Linked DNA regions of Homo sapiens: all the other regions are linked to region 1. Evidence: promoter capture Hi-C in 16 types of primary human blood cells and fetal thymus (Javierre and others, 2016). All regions are on one chromosome and are shown on one strand. Each heading gives the region's core, a stretch centred on a gene start or on the middle of the fragment in contact. The rest is flanking DNA. Distances are from core to core; before and after follow the strand shown.

What was found. The method cuts DNA at HindIII sites, captures the fragments that hold promoters and counts their contacts. A CHiCAGO score of 5 or more calls a contact.
Region 2: a contact is called between a fragment that was not itself captured here and the fragment with the promoter of TLR8 in region 1, in 4 of 17 cell types (naive CD4 T cells, activated CD4 T cells, total CD4 T cells and 1 more). The highest score is 8.1, in naive CD4 T cells.
Region 3: a contact is called between a fragment that was not itself captured here and the fragment with the promoter of TLR8 in region 1, in 9 of 17 cell types (activated CD4 T cells, non-activated CD4 T cells, total CD4 T cells and 6 more). The highest score is 12.1, in activated CD4 T cells.
Region 4: a fragment that was not itself captured here is called in contact with the fragment with the promoter of TLR8 in region 1 in 7 of 17 cell types (non-activated CD4 T cells, total CD8 T cells, naive CD4 T cells and 4 more); the score reaches 8.7 in non-activated CD4 T cells.

What each region holds. Positions count from the first base shown.
Region 1 is chrX:12,905,084-12,908,157 of GRCh38, reverse strand. It overlaps TLR8 (toll like receptor 8), which reads right to left and starts at 1,538. Exons shown (of 2, transcript NM_138636.5): 1 at 1,449-1,538. The coding sequence starts at 1,451. It overlaps TLR8-AS1 (TLR8 antisense RNA 1), which reads left to right. Exons shown (of 5, transcript NR_030727.1): 4 at 1,907-1,968. The HindIII fragment of the contact is 3,594 bases long and covers 1,423-3,074 here.
Region 2 is chrX:13,517,781-13,520,854 of GRCh38, reverse strand. No RefSeq gene overlaps it. Among named protein-coding and RNA genes, the nearest start is that of EGFL6, 50 kb to the left of the region's middle. The HindIII fragment of the contact is 9,708 bases long and covers 1-3,074 here.
Region 3 is chrX:13,475,923-13,478,996 of GRCh38, reverse strand. No RefSeq gene overlaps it. Among named protein-coding and RNA genes, the nearest start is that of EGFL6, 92 kb to the left of the region's middle. The HindIII fragment of the contact is 2,216 bases long and covers 350-2,565 here.
Region 4 is chrX:13,449,507-13,452,580 of GRCh38, reverse strand. No RefSeq gene overlaps it. Among named protein-coding and RNA genes, the nearest start is that of LINC01203, 120 kb to the right of the region's middle. The HindIII fragment of the contact is 3,047 bases long and covers 44-3,074 here.

The sequences.
Region 1 (3,074 bases), core at 289-2,788:
TGTTGACCGGGCTGGTCTCTACCTACTGACCTCAAGTGATCCGCCCACGTCGGCTTCCCAAAGTGCTGGGATTATAGGCGTGAGCCACCGGGCCCCGGCTATTTACCACATTCTTACAGTACAATTATACTGGCTATCACAGCAGCTTACAAATATCAAGTAGGAATTGGATAATTTCAACTGCAATCCCATATGTGTCATTGGCCCAGTTGACCGAATTCCATATGGGCCACCTACAGTCATTTTGTAAAGCATTGTAAAATTTTAGTGCAGAATTAATTTACCTTCAAGATCCATAATGAACATTAGGTGGGTATAAAAATTAACTTCAGGCCGGGCGCGGTGGCTCATGCCTGTAATCCCAGCACTTTGGGAGGCTGAGACAGGCGGATCACCTGAGGTCAGGAGTTCGAGACCAGCCTGGCCAACATGGAGAAACCCCGTCTCTACTAAAAATACAAAAATTAGCCAGGCGTGGTGGCACACACCTGTAGTCCCAGCTACTTGGGAGGTTGAGGCAGGAGAATCGCTTGAACCCGGGAGGCGGAGGTTGCAGTGAGCTGAGATCACGCCACTGCACTCCAACCTGGGTGGCAGACCCATTAACTTCAAAAGACTTAAGTGTACTTTAAATTGTTGTCAAAATTAACTCCAAGGACTTTGGGGAAAAATATATAGTACATTTTGGATGAGACTCTCTTGAAATCAGACTTTTCAATTGCTCTTAAACCTCATTGAATTTTCTAGAAAATGTATCATTTAAAAAGAAGTGTAAAGTTCATTTTTAGTCTGACAGTTCTTGACAATAACAAAAACGGACCACCTGCTATGTCTTGACAGTGTAAAATAATAATTACAGAAATTGTAGCATGTTATTAGGTTGGTGGAAAAGTAATCACAGTTTTTTGTACCAACCTAATTATTTAAAACTCTGACCAAGAAAAGTAGCAATTAATGTCGAACTTTAAGCCTCCAACAGTAGGTTAAGCTCAGGCTTCACTAGGATCTAGCAATTGACCTATGTATGTGAAGGAAGAGAGTTTGTCCTTTTCTACAGAAATAGCAAAGGAAGAATATTTCCCTCACCTTCTCTTCCAACCCTGTTGTTCTGGAAGAGGATATTGTCTCTGGTAGGGCCAGTAAGTAATATTTCCAGTTCAATTTCTAACTTGAAATTTTCTTATTTTCCTGTCCAAATTAGTAAGATCATCACTGCATTTGATTTTCAAAATTTACTCTCTAATTCCTTTATACTAACGTGTGCACAAATTAAAGATCATAGCAAGCCGCTTTACCTGCATTTACAGTTGTTTCGATCTTTAATTTTTATCCTTATTTGCCCATTTATTACTTTCTAGGCTCACACCATTTGCCACCAACCCAGATTTCTGGGTCAGAAACCCCATATTCTGTTGGAAAGCTTTGCTAAAGAAATAGAAGTGGCTTACCATGTTTCTGTTGTTCTAATTTTTCATTCCGTAACTTGCAGCAGCGCAGAATGGTACCCTCTATGCAGGAGGTGGCCGAGAAGAGAAACTGGCTAACTTCCTGAAATGGCTCTATTTACCATCAGCAGAACGTAGCGTGTGTTTTACAGAAGTTTACATGAAAAGAAGGGAACTTGTGATTTCTTAGCTGTTGCCAAATCATTAATTGACTGTGCTTTAAAACTTTGAAACTGAAGTTATGGGAAAAAGTCATTTATGAAATGATTTAAATACAACCCAAATCAGACACACACGACGTATTTTTGTTAGTTTTTGTGTATTTGTGTGTACAGGGGAGAAAAAGGGAACATTATTCCATTCACTAAGAAAACTTCAGTGTATTCTTTTTTAAAAAAGTTACCATAAATTTGTACTGAACTTCGGATTTCTCAAACTCGTCTTCCTTGTGTAATTCACAGATGTAGGCGAATAACATGAACATTGCTTCATCTTTGTTCCACAAGTTTCTGAGACAGCACCGGTAGGTATGGGTCTCCCTCCCACTGGGCTGTGGCCGCAAAGCGAGCATCTTTCTCCTGGGCGCCCCATGCCTCCTCCAGCACCTGGCATGTAGTATAAGCTCAATGAGTGTTCATTGTATGAACGAGTGAGTCAATGGCTGAGCATTCGTGAGGCTGGAAAATTTAATCTTCCCGATTTAGTCTGATAAATGGATTCCATTTTATGCTCGGAGAGCAAGGGCCTCAAAAGGTGTAACCAAGAGCAGAGGTCAGCAAACTGCAGCCTTTGAACGAAATCCGGCCCAGAAGTGAAAACATTTTTAGATGAACATTGGCAATGGATTTGCTGATACAGAACACTAACTTTAAATTCCAACCAAGCAGAATGTTAGCACCTCCAAAAATGATTCCATTCTTCTCATTATTAAACCTATACTACAAAAAAACTGCCTTCGATTATTATTATTACATTTTGAGTTTCATCAATTACATAATTGTGGAAATTTTTATTTTACTATATAAGTAGCTACATAATATGCCAAATTTGCTTCTTGGCCTGTAAAACCTAAGATATTTGCCATCTGGCCCTTTACAGAAAAAGTTTGCTGACCCCTGGCCACAAGAATAAAGTTTAGAACGGGATGTGATATGTTTCATCTTGCCTTACACCCCAGGAGTGGGAGAAAACCAAATTGGCAGCAGGGTGGGCAGAGATGACATCCATATATAAATGGACTGTGGAACACCTTGTTATGAAGGAAGGCCTGTCAGCAGTCAAAGAATGGCTTGGGTGGGTATACCTAGATGGACCTCTAAAGATCACACCCTAAGGGAATTCAAGACCTGGTGCATGGTTTGAGAGGTGATTCCTGTGACATCAGAGAGTGCAGCCTGGGCCTTCATGGGCAAACCAAAAACATTTGTGATTGTAAACCCAAAGGCCTCGGCTGGCCGCATCCAAGTCTCTTGGTTTCCCTCCAAACATTTGCTTGGAAATAAAGTAAAGAAAGTAAGTAAGAATGGATCGAGTGCAGTGGCTCACACCTGTAATTCCAGCACTTTGTAGAGGCCGAGGCAGGAGGATCACTTGTGCTCAGGGGTTTGAGACCAACCCGGGCAACATGGC
Region 2 (3,074 bases), core at 249-2,748, 610 kb before region 1:
GGTATTATTTTACCTTCAAAACAACTCTGAGAAAAACTGAAAATACATTGTTATACCTATTTTATGATGGAGAAAACAGAAAAGAGAAGTGACAATCTCAAGTACACATAACTAGCCAGGGCAAAAGCCAGGCCTCTGACCCTCTTAACTTTTCACTTTAGAAAATACTTAGTCATGACAAACCTTGATCCTTTCAGGGTTGATGTGATTGTTTGAAAGAGTCACATTTCATTTAAGCGAAGTCTGGACAATGAAGTGAGTAATACTTTTTATGGTTAAGGAAATGTAGAAGGTGTTATTCTTAAGAGTAAGAGTGATTTTTTTTGTAAGATATTTTCTGGCTCCTTGGTCAATTCTCTTTCCAAAATATCATCACACAGCACATCCAGGGGGACAATTAAACTTTCTGCTTTAGGGTAGAGTAAATACAGTTCGAGGGAATGGAGAGTTTGCAGGGAAACATGTTTAACATATCATCCCTCTATTGCTCTTCAGGGATTTGTGAACACGAACCAAGACAGTAAATTCTATGAAAACAATGGTACAATATTTGCTTCTGGAACTTTCTGTTCACCCACTCAAGAAATGCAGTATGACCAGGCCATGCCAGAAGGCCCTTTGTGTTCTGTGGTAACTTTGAGGCCCTTGGGTAAGTCATGGAACCTTGCTGAATCTCAATTTCTTTGTCTGTACAGCGAAAGGTGGGACTAGAGGAGCCCAGGGTGGCTTTTAGCTCTGTAATGCAATACTGTGATCTCAGCAGGATTTCACATCCCTCCTCTACTCATCTCTGATGGAGAGCGTAGCTTAGGTGATCATTTTACCTTTATGCCGAGACACACACAGAGGTTTTCCTATACCGTTTTCTTACGACAAATATCCATACACTCTTTTTATAACAAATAGTTTACAGTGCCTGTTTTCCTAGTTTTACATGAAATTCACAGACAATACAACCCACCTTTACGTACTTTTGCCCCAAAATTGGTATGATGCTCTAATAGTAATACAAAAGGGAATAAAATGAAAGTAATTCAGAATAAAATGTATTTAAACATGTAAACAGTCAAACATGACAACACTAGAAGTGTCCTTGCCCTCTGTCCTTCAGAAAAAAATTTTAAAGGCTCTGTGATCAAACAAATTTGGAAAGTTTTAGATTAATCCAAGTCCAACATTTTGCAGGACTTCTCAGAGACTTGAACATACTACTGTCCATTGCCAAGTTACAAGGGAGAATTTGGAATATAGCATTTTCCCAAATCTTAAGACCATGCAAGCCATTCTTTAGAGATGTTTTATGCAACTAGGGATCCTGAGGACATGCTTTGAGAAACTTTCCAACATCCATCACGAGGTACATCCAATCACGAGTGACAGCACGGCCCTGTGAACTGGTCATTGTCAAGGCTTAGTGTTATTGGGTGTAGGAACACAAACTAGAGCAGAAGCTCATTTAGCAACACCCTGGCCTTTACCCACTAGATTCCAGTAGCACTTTCCCACCCTTGCCAAAGTTCTGACAACAAAAAATGTCTCCAGACATTGCCAAATGTCCTCTGTGGGGCGAAATTGCCTCCTGTTGGGAACCCCTTATTAAGTAACATGCAATATATAACATTACTTTTCCCCTGCTCACATTTTATGAAAGATATTTTATTCAGATTCTCCACATTCAACTTCCAACAATGATGTCTTCACTATTCTGGGAAGCACTTCTGGAGCCATCTACAGGCATCTTCCAGGCTTCCACCATCTTTGTTTTTATCTAAGTTGTTTTGAGATACAGCCACTTGTCTCTGGGGACCACTGAGTATTCAATTCTCAGCCATGGTTTTTACGTTCATTCTGTATGTATTTGTGATCTTCAATCTTAATGGCAGATTCTATTGCTTCTAAAGAGCTTCTGGAAACAGCTTCACATTACCTGCAGTGCTAGTGACTACCACTTTCTGGTACCAGGGAAACATCTGCTGCTCTTGGCCATCTCAGGGGTCTGAGAGACTCTTGGAGATTCTCTTAAACTTCCTGCAGACACAGCAAAACGGATGTGCCTTTTGCTCCCACAGTACGCTGGGTACAGGGAACCCTAGGGTCTTTCTGCCCACTTGAGCTTTAGCCATGGACAGAGCATAAGTTCCCCTTGCATTCAGATCCTCAAAGCTAGGCTGGTCTTCCATTATTTCCTCCTCTCTGCCCTGACTTGGCCTTGTCAAGGGCACAGGCCTGCTCAGGGACCCACTGACATCTGAAGGATTTTCATTTACCTTTTATCTCTCTTTCTCCCACACATCCCAGAGAATCTTCTCTAGGCTTGAGCATGGCACAACTGTACCTGCTTGACGATGTTTTCTTCCAGGTCTTTGTATCACGCCCAGCCTGGGCTTTTGGAACTCAAAACTTTGACTGCCTAGTTGCCTGTATCATCCCCTTCCTGAGGCAACCACGGCTGACTTCACAGACAGGAGTAAGGGTGGGGCGGGCCGAAAGAGTAGAAAAAGTAGCAGAGGTTAATGACCTAAAATAGCATGCCATCACACGGTTAAAGGTGTTTCTGGTCATAGCTGAGAGACAGAGAACAAAGAACTTACAAAGCAAAGTTTGCTGGCTGCCCCAACAGAACAGGAGCTGATGCAGAGATGGGGAAGGAATTGGACTGGTTTAACAATTGTGATTCACTATCACACAGTCTATTATTAGTTCTGCAATATTAAATAAGAATTTCAAATTCAGTTATGGTAACAATGAGTCACCATTTTCTACCCCCAGATGAAGCTAAAGATAATGCCATAATAAGGTAAATGACACTGAAAATAGACCAATAACTTTTCTGAAGTGGTAGGCTGAGTTTTTGTTCATTTACTATTTGCCTGGGTATGGAGAAAGTGGAAGGGCGGTGATTGTATTTGTGGCCAGGATGTAATGATGTTTTTTGTTTGTTTGTTTACAGTTATGACTAAGAGTGTTAGTCGGTCCCATTGACCTGGGAAGGCACTCTTTCAGGCCTTGGCTCCTGGAGTGGGACATAAAGATTCATGGGAGCTGGTTTGCTTATAATACAAGCATATTTCATA
Region 3 (3,074 bases), core at 208-2,707, 570 kb before region 1:
CCAAGCTTCTGAGTGCCAGCTGTACCAGGCAGCATACCAGGGCCTGGAAATACTGCAGAGAACAGGCAGTCTCTCCCTGTAGGGCCATTCCATTCCCCTGGGGGAGATAACAGTTCCTGCTCTCTTGGGGAGATTGGCATGAGAGCCAATTGATGAGGAAATAGAATATCAGGTCATTGCAAGCGCCCGGAGGCACAGAAAGCAGGGTCAGGGAGTGGAGACACTGAAGGGAAGGAAGGTCTTTGTAAAGAGCTGACATCAGAAGAGACTGGAATGAAGCGATAGTGAGAATCGCATATCAGGAAAAACTTGGGGAGAGGTTGGTGCGTGGCATGGATGCGGAAAAGCTTGGCTCTTCTCATGGAAATTACTCCTTTTCAACATCCATTCTTAATCTGGGAAGCCGCATCAAGTAGATGGGCTCAGGAATCAGTCAACCCAGAGACCAGCCAGAGCCTTAAGGTGGGACCTGCTGGGAACAGATTAACTGGGCCAGGTAGATTTCACCCTTCAGGATTTTGAACTGGTAATACAGAAAGGATGCACAAGTTGCAGGCACAGAAAAACAGATGAGGTTATCTGTGGAGACCAGCTGGGTTGTGTTAATGGTGGAGAACTTGGATGAAGATCTGGGGACTGGGAGAGCAGCCTGAGGTTCTAGAATTCTCCTCCACCTGCAGGCTCTGAGATGGTCAGAGAAGTATCTTGGCATCTAGGACCCTCCATCTCCCTTCACTGCTCCAGGTGCACTCCAGTATTAAACCTCTCTTATTTCAGGAGGCTGAAGGAGCATCTGTTTCTTGCATCTAGAAGACTTCAGGCGAAAGAATTTGAGGGGTTGAAAGCAAACCTGCTAAGACATATTCCAAGGGGATTTAGCTCCGGGGCAGTAGATGGAGGCTCTGTGTAGTGCTCTGATTTCTCCTAGACAGCCTTTAAGAAACCAAAGTATTAAGTCAGCTCTTGCCTAAAGAGACATTCAGCAATTTCCAAGCCCATGATGTAGGGTTGGTAATGATGGGGAAGATTTTCCACAGACAGCTCATGCCATATCTGTGCATGGGTGCCAGTGCCTGGCCTCAGTGTCCTGCCTTTATTCTGGATGGTGGGGATAAATGATCTCTTTTTCTGGGTGGTAGGCTTTCTTGGATTTATGGACTTCATCCATGGAAGAGCGGAAACTAGACTACCCCTTATCAAAATTGGCAGAGGTGGTCTTATTGTCTTGGAGGCTTTGGGGTTAGGCCCAATTAGGGCTGGATTTCAGCTCTACCACTCACTGGCTGGGTCTTTGTAAACCTTCGTAACTTTTCTGTTAACTGGTAATAAAAAGTTCTTCCACTTAAGTTTGATGAGAAAACTAAATGAGAATTATTTTAAAAGTAAAGTACCTGGTGAATATGGGTAATGTAATAAGGTTGTTTAAGGTCTAGGAGACCATGTAAGGGAAAATACACTTTCATAGTTGAGCAAACAGCCTTAGATTTGCCTGGTACAGATATTGCAAAGTCTTTACAAGCATAAATAAGTAGTGTTAAAATAAGATTTGTCTGGCTGGGCACAGTGGCTTACACCTGTAATCCCAGCACTTTGGAAGGCCAAGGTGGGCAGATCACTCGAGACCAGGAGTTTGAGACCAGCCTGGCCAACATGGTGAAATTCCATCTCTACTAAAAATACAAAAATTAGTCAGGTGTGGTGGCGCACGCCTGTAATCCCAGCTACCAGGGAGGCTGAGGCACGAGAATCACCTGAACCCGGGAGGCAGAGGTTGAAGTGAGCCAATATCACACCACTGCACTCTAGCCTGGGCGACAGAGTGAGACTCTGTCTCAAACAAACAAAAAAAAAAAAGATTTGTTTGTGGGGTTAACCTGACATTGCTCCTTTGGGATAAATAGGTGGTGTGATTATAGAGTTGGTGAGAAATCCATGCACAGAACTGTTAACTGCTTTATCAGAACGCTCTTGCTAGCAGCAGATTTGACATCAGAATTTTAAGAACTGGGTGTGTTTCCTGACTCTGTTACGCTGCACCATTGCTAGTGTCGCACTGATGTTTCACCCATTTTTGTTTCATAGTGCCAGCCTTTGTTCCTTCAGAGCTGATTTATCATCTCTGAAAGTTCTGGATGTCCAGGCATCAGTGGTGAATCTATCAAAGATGGCCCATGATCTCTTGGAGGCCTGACTCTAATCATCAGGATTATCCCATTAGGGATAGAATGGAGGCCACTCTACATGCACCTATTTGGTCTTTGATCATTCTCATGCCCCCAGCCAAAGGGAAATTGAGAAGGCTGTCTGGGTGATCAGAACAGTTGTCCATGACAAATTGAATGGAGGTCACCTCCTCTGGGGTTCCTGACAACTGGGAATAAATCCAGGCTGATGACCCAGATGGGAAGGCTGCCCAGTATGTAAATGGTCAGTCATCATTCTTGTCTTGCTGGACAGCTTCACGGAGATTAATCTCCCTAAAGCTGTCCGGCACCCTGAGTGAGGTGTCAGTTCAGGTGATTTCCCCAGTGTCCCGTTCTGATCTCTGCTGTCCGCTTGCAAGCTTTCCTAAAAGGATTCTGCAACACAGGCAAAGTATTTGTTGCAAGAGTACAAGGCAGCAAATGCAAGGTATTTGTTTGGGATTGATATCATTAGAAGGAAGAAGAAGAAAGGGTTGGAGAGGATGACAACGAAAGAGAAAACCCTGGACACTGGCATATTCAATGTTCTTTTTAAAAGAAGAGGAGAGTGTGCGTGAATTTCTGGTTTCAGATCTGACTTATCAACTACCAATGAAACTTTACAGAATGGAATTCCAAAGCATACATGCTCCATTCTGAGTGAAAGTCAATAAAACCAGCCATACATATTTATTGCCCCTTGTAAAAATAAGATTGTGTCTTTATTTTTTAATACAAATTATTTTTAATGGAGGCTCTGCAGCCTGTGTAACCCTGTCCCCAAGCTTCCCTACAATCTCCCATAGCCGTTCTGAAATTTACATTTAGGAATGTTGTTTGCTGTGATAAACTGTTCAGTTGTGCTCCATTGGCTTTAGACCATTTAACCTC
Region 4 (3,074 bases), core at 318-2,817, 540 kb before region 1:
TGACTAGGGTTGCTATCCTGTGAAGACGTAACTTGGCAAAGCTTGTGGCCACGACGAGCATGCCTGAGGATGCAGGGAACACGAAAGAGAGCAGAGCCAACAGACAGTGAGAGAAGGCTTGCCAACGACACTGTTGAAAGTGATGTCATATAATAGTATGTTCAGAGAGTAGAGAGCAATTAAAATAGGAAACACATGAACTCACTAAGGCTGCTACTCACCAGGACTCATCTGTTGTCAATCTCTCTTCTTTTTTTTTTTTTTTTGAGATGGAGTTTCGCTCTGTCGCCCAGGCTGGAGTGCAGTGGTGTGATCTCGGTTCATTGCAACCTCCGCCTCCCAGGTTCAAGTGATTGTCCTCCCTCAGCCTCCTGAGTAGCTGGGACTACAGGCATGTGCCACCATGCCCAGCTAATTTTTGTACTTTTTAGTAGAGACTGGGTTTGCTATGTCGGCCAGGCTGGTTCCGAACTCCTGGCCTCAAGTGATCCGCCCACCTTGGCCTCCCAAAGTGCTGGGATTACAGGCATGAGCCACCACACCTGGCCGTCAATCTTTACCTATGTGAACTCTTACTTTCCTCTTGCATTATGACTTTGATTTCTCATTGCCCTAACTTCTCCTGCATTGCAAGCCGTTTTTATATGTAAAACAGCTGTTCAAGCCAGCCTGAGCTTCTGGATAAAGTCAAGTCACCATTAATTACAGCTTCCCTGAGAAGAAGATAATAACTTGTCTTCTGTTTCTCATATTCTGACTTTCAGTCTAGTGCCTACAGGCACTGATTCAAATTGCAAAGTAACGTCTCGGCCTTTCTTTTTTGCTCTCACTCACTTGCACAAAAATTTATGAAAAAGTATCCCACTCAACAGAAGGACAGAACTGGTCTTCATTGGACCCACCACATACCCCTTCACACTCCTCTCCTTAGTCACTCAGAGCTCATCAGAAAGCCCACTTTTACAGAATGCCAAATACTTAAACTCAGTAGCTCTCCAGCACTATTCATAATGGCAGAGACATAGAATCAACCCAGGTGCTCATCAATGGTGGATTGGAAAAAGAAAACGTGGTACATACACACCATGGAACACTAGGCAGCCATTAAAAAAGAATGAGATCATATCCTTTGCAGCAACATGGATGCAGCTGGAGGCCATTATCCTAAGTGAATTAATACAAGAACAGAAAACCAAATACTGCATGATCTCACTTAGAATTGGGAGCTAAACATTGGGTACTCATGGACATAAAGATGAAAACAACAGACACTGGGGACTGCAAGAGCGGGAGAGAGGGAAGAGGGTAAGGGCTGAAAGACTACTGGGTACTAGGCTCACTACCTTGGTGACAGGATCGTTTGTACCCTAAACCTCAGCATCATTCAATATACTCATGTGTATTAGTCCGTTCTCGCATTACTATAAAGAACTGCCTGAGTCTAGGTAATTTATACAAAAAGAGGTTTAATTGACTCACAGTTCCACAGGCTGTACAGGAAGCATGGCTCGGGAGACCTCAGGAAACTTACAGTCATGGCAGAAGGGGAAGCAGGCACGTTCTACATGTCTGGAGCAGGAGTAAGAGAGCAAAGGGGTAAGTGCTACACATATTTAAACAACCAGATCTCGTGAGGACTCACTCACTATCACGAGAACAGCAAGGGGAAAATCCACCCCCATGATCCAATCACCTCCCACCAGGCTCCTCCTCCAACATTGAAAGTTCCAATTTGACATGATATTTGGCTGGGGACACAGAGCCAAACTATATCACCATGTAACAAACCTGCCCATGTAATCCCTGAATCTAAAATAAAAGTTGAAATTATATTTATATTAAAAAGAACCAACTAAATGGTTCTCAAAGTGTGGTTCCTGGCCCAGCAGCATCAGTATCACCTGCCGTGAAATAACACGAAATACACATATTGGTCTCTGCCCCCAGTCCTTGACACAGAGCTTCTAAACCCTTGTAATTGTCTGAACAATTGGAGTGCTGGGAGGATCTTTTGTTCCAATATTTGATCTTTGACGCAGGTTCCTGACACAGAGCTCCTAAATCCCTTGGAATTTCCTGGGTGATGGGAGCATCCTTTGCTCTAATGAGGAGACTCTTGGTGGCCTCCTGTACTGCCTCAGGTTGAGGGCTGGTTGCCAGGGGAACCAATCATGTGATTAGAGGGAAGGAACTTTCAGGGCCACCCCCCTGGCCTCTGGGGAGAGGAAACGGACTGAACTTTACGTTGATCACCAATGGCCAATGATGTAAACAATTATGCCTATGTAATGAGACCTTCATAAGTACCCAAGAGGACAGGGTTCAGGTGGCCTGGATTGCTGAACACATGGGGGTTCGTAGAGGGTGGTGCACCCGCAGAGGGCATGGAAGCTCCACGCCCCTTCCCCATACCTCGCCTTATGCTTCTCTTCCATATGGCTGTTCATCTGGATCCGTTGTAACATTCTTTATAATAAATGGGTAAATGTAAGTAAAAGTGTTTCCCTGGGCTCTGTGAGCCACTATAGCAAATTAATTGAACCCAAGGAGGGGGTTATGGGGACCCTGGTCAGTCAGAAGCACAGGCTATAACCTAAACTTGCGAATGGCGTCTTAAGTGGGGGCAGTCTTGTGGAACTGAGCCCTCAACCTGTGGGATCTGACGCTGTCTCCAGGTAGATAGTGTTGGAATTGAATTGAATTAAATAAAGGTCACCCAGCTTGTGTCCTTTAATTCAATTAAGGAGAATTATCTGCAGAATTGCTTGGTGTGTAGGAAAAAAAACCCTTTACACATGGGGTTATAGAAGTGTTGAGTAGCTGTGTGAGAGTAGAGAGTAGGAAAATCACTTTGGTTGTCATTGCATCACTATATCTGGGAACTTGTTAGAACTGCAAATTCTCAGGCCCTGCCCCACACCTACTGAACCAGGAACCCTGGGTGAGGCACAGCAATCTGTGTTTTTACAACCCCTCTACCTGATGGTGATGCACCAGCTAAAGTCTAAAACATTTTATAGGTTGTTGCAAGAACTCAATTCTGCCATAGGCATTATGTAAATGATGGGCTCAGC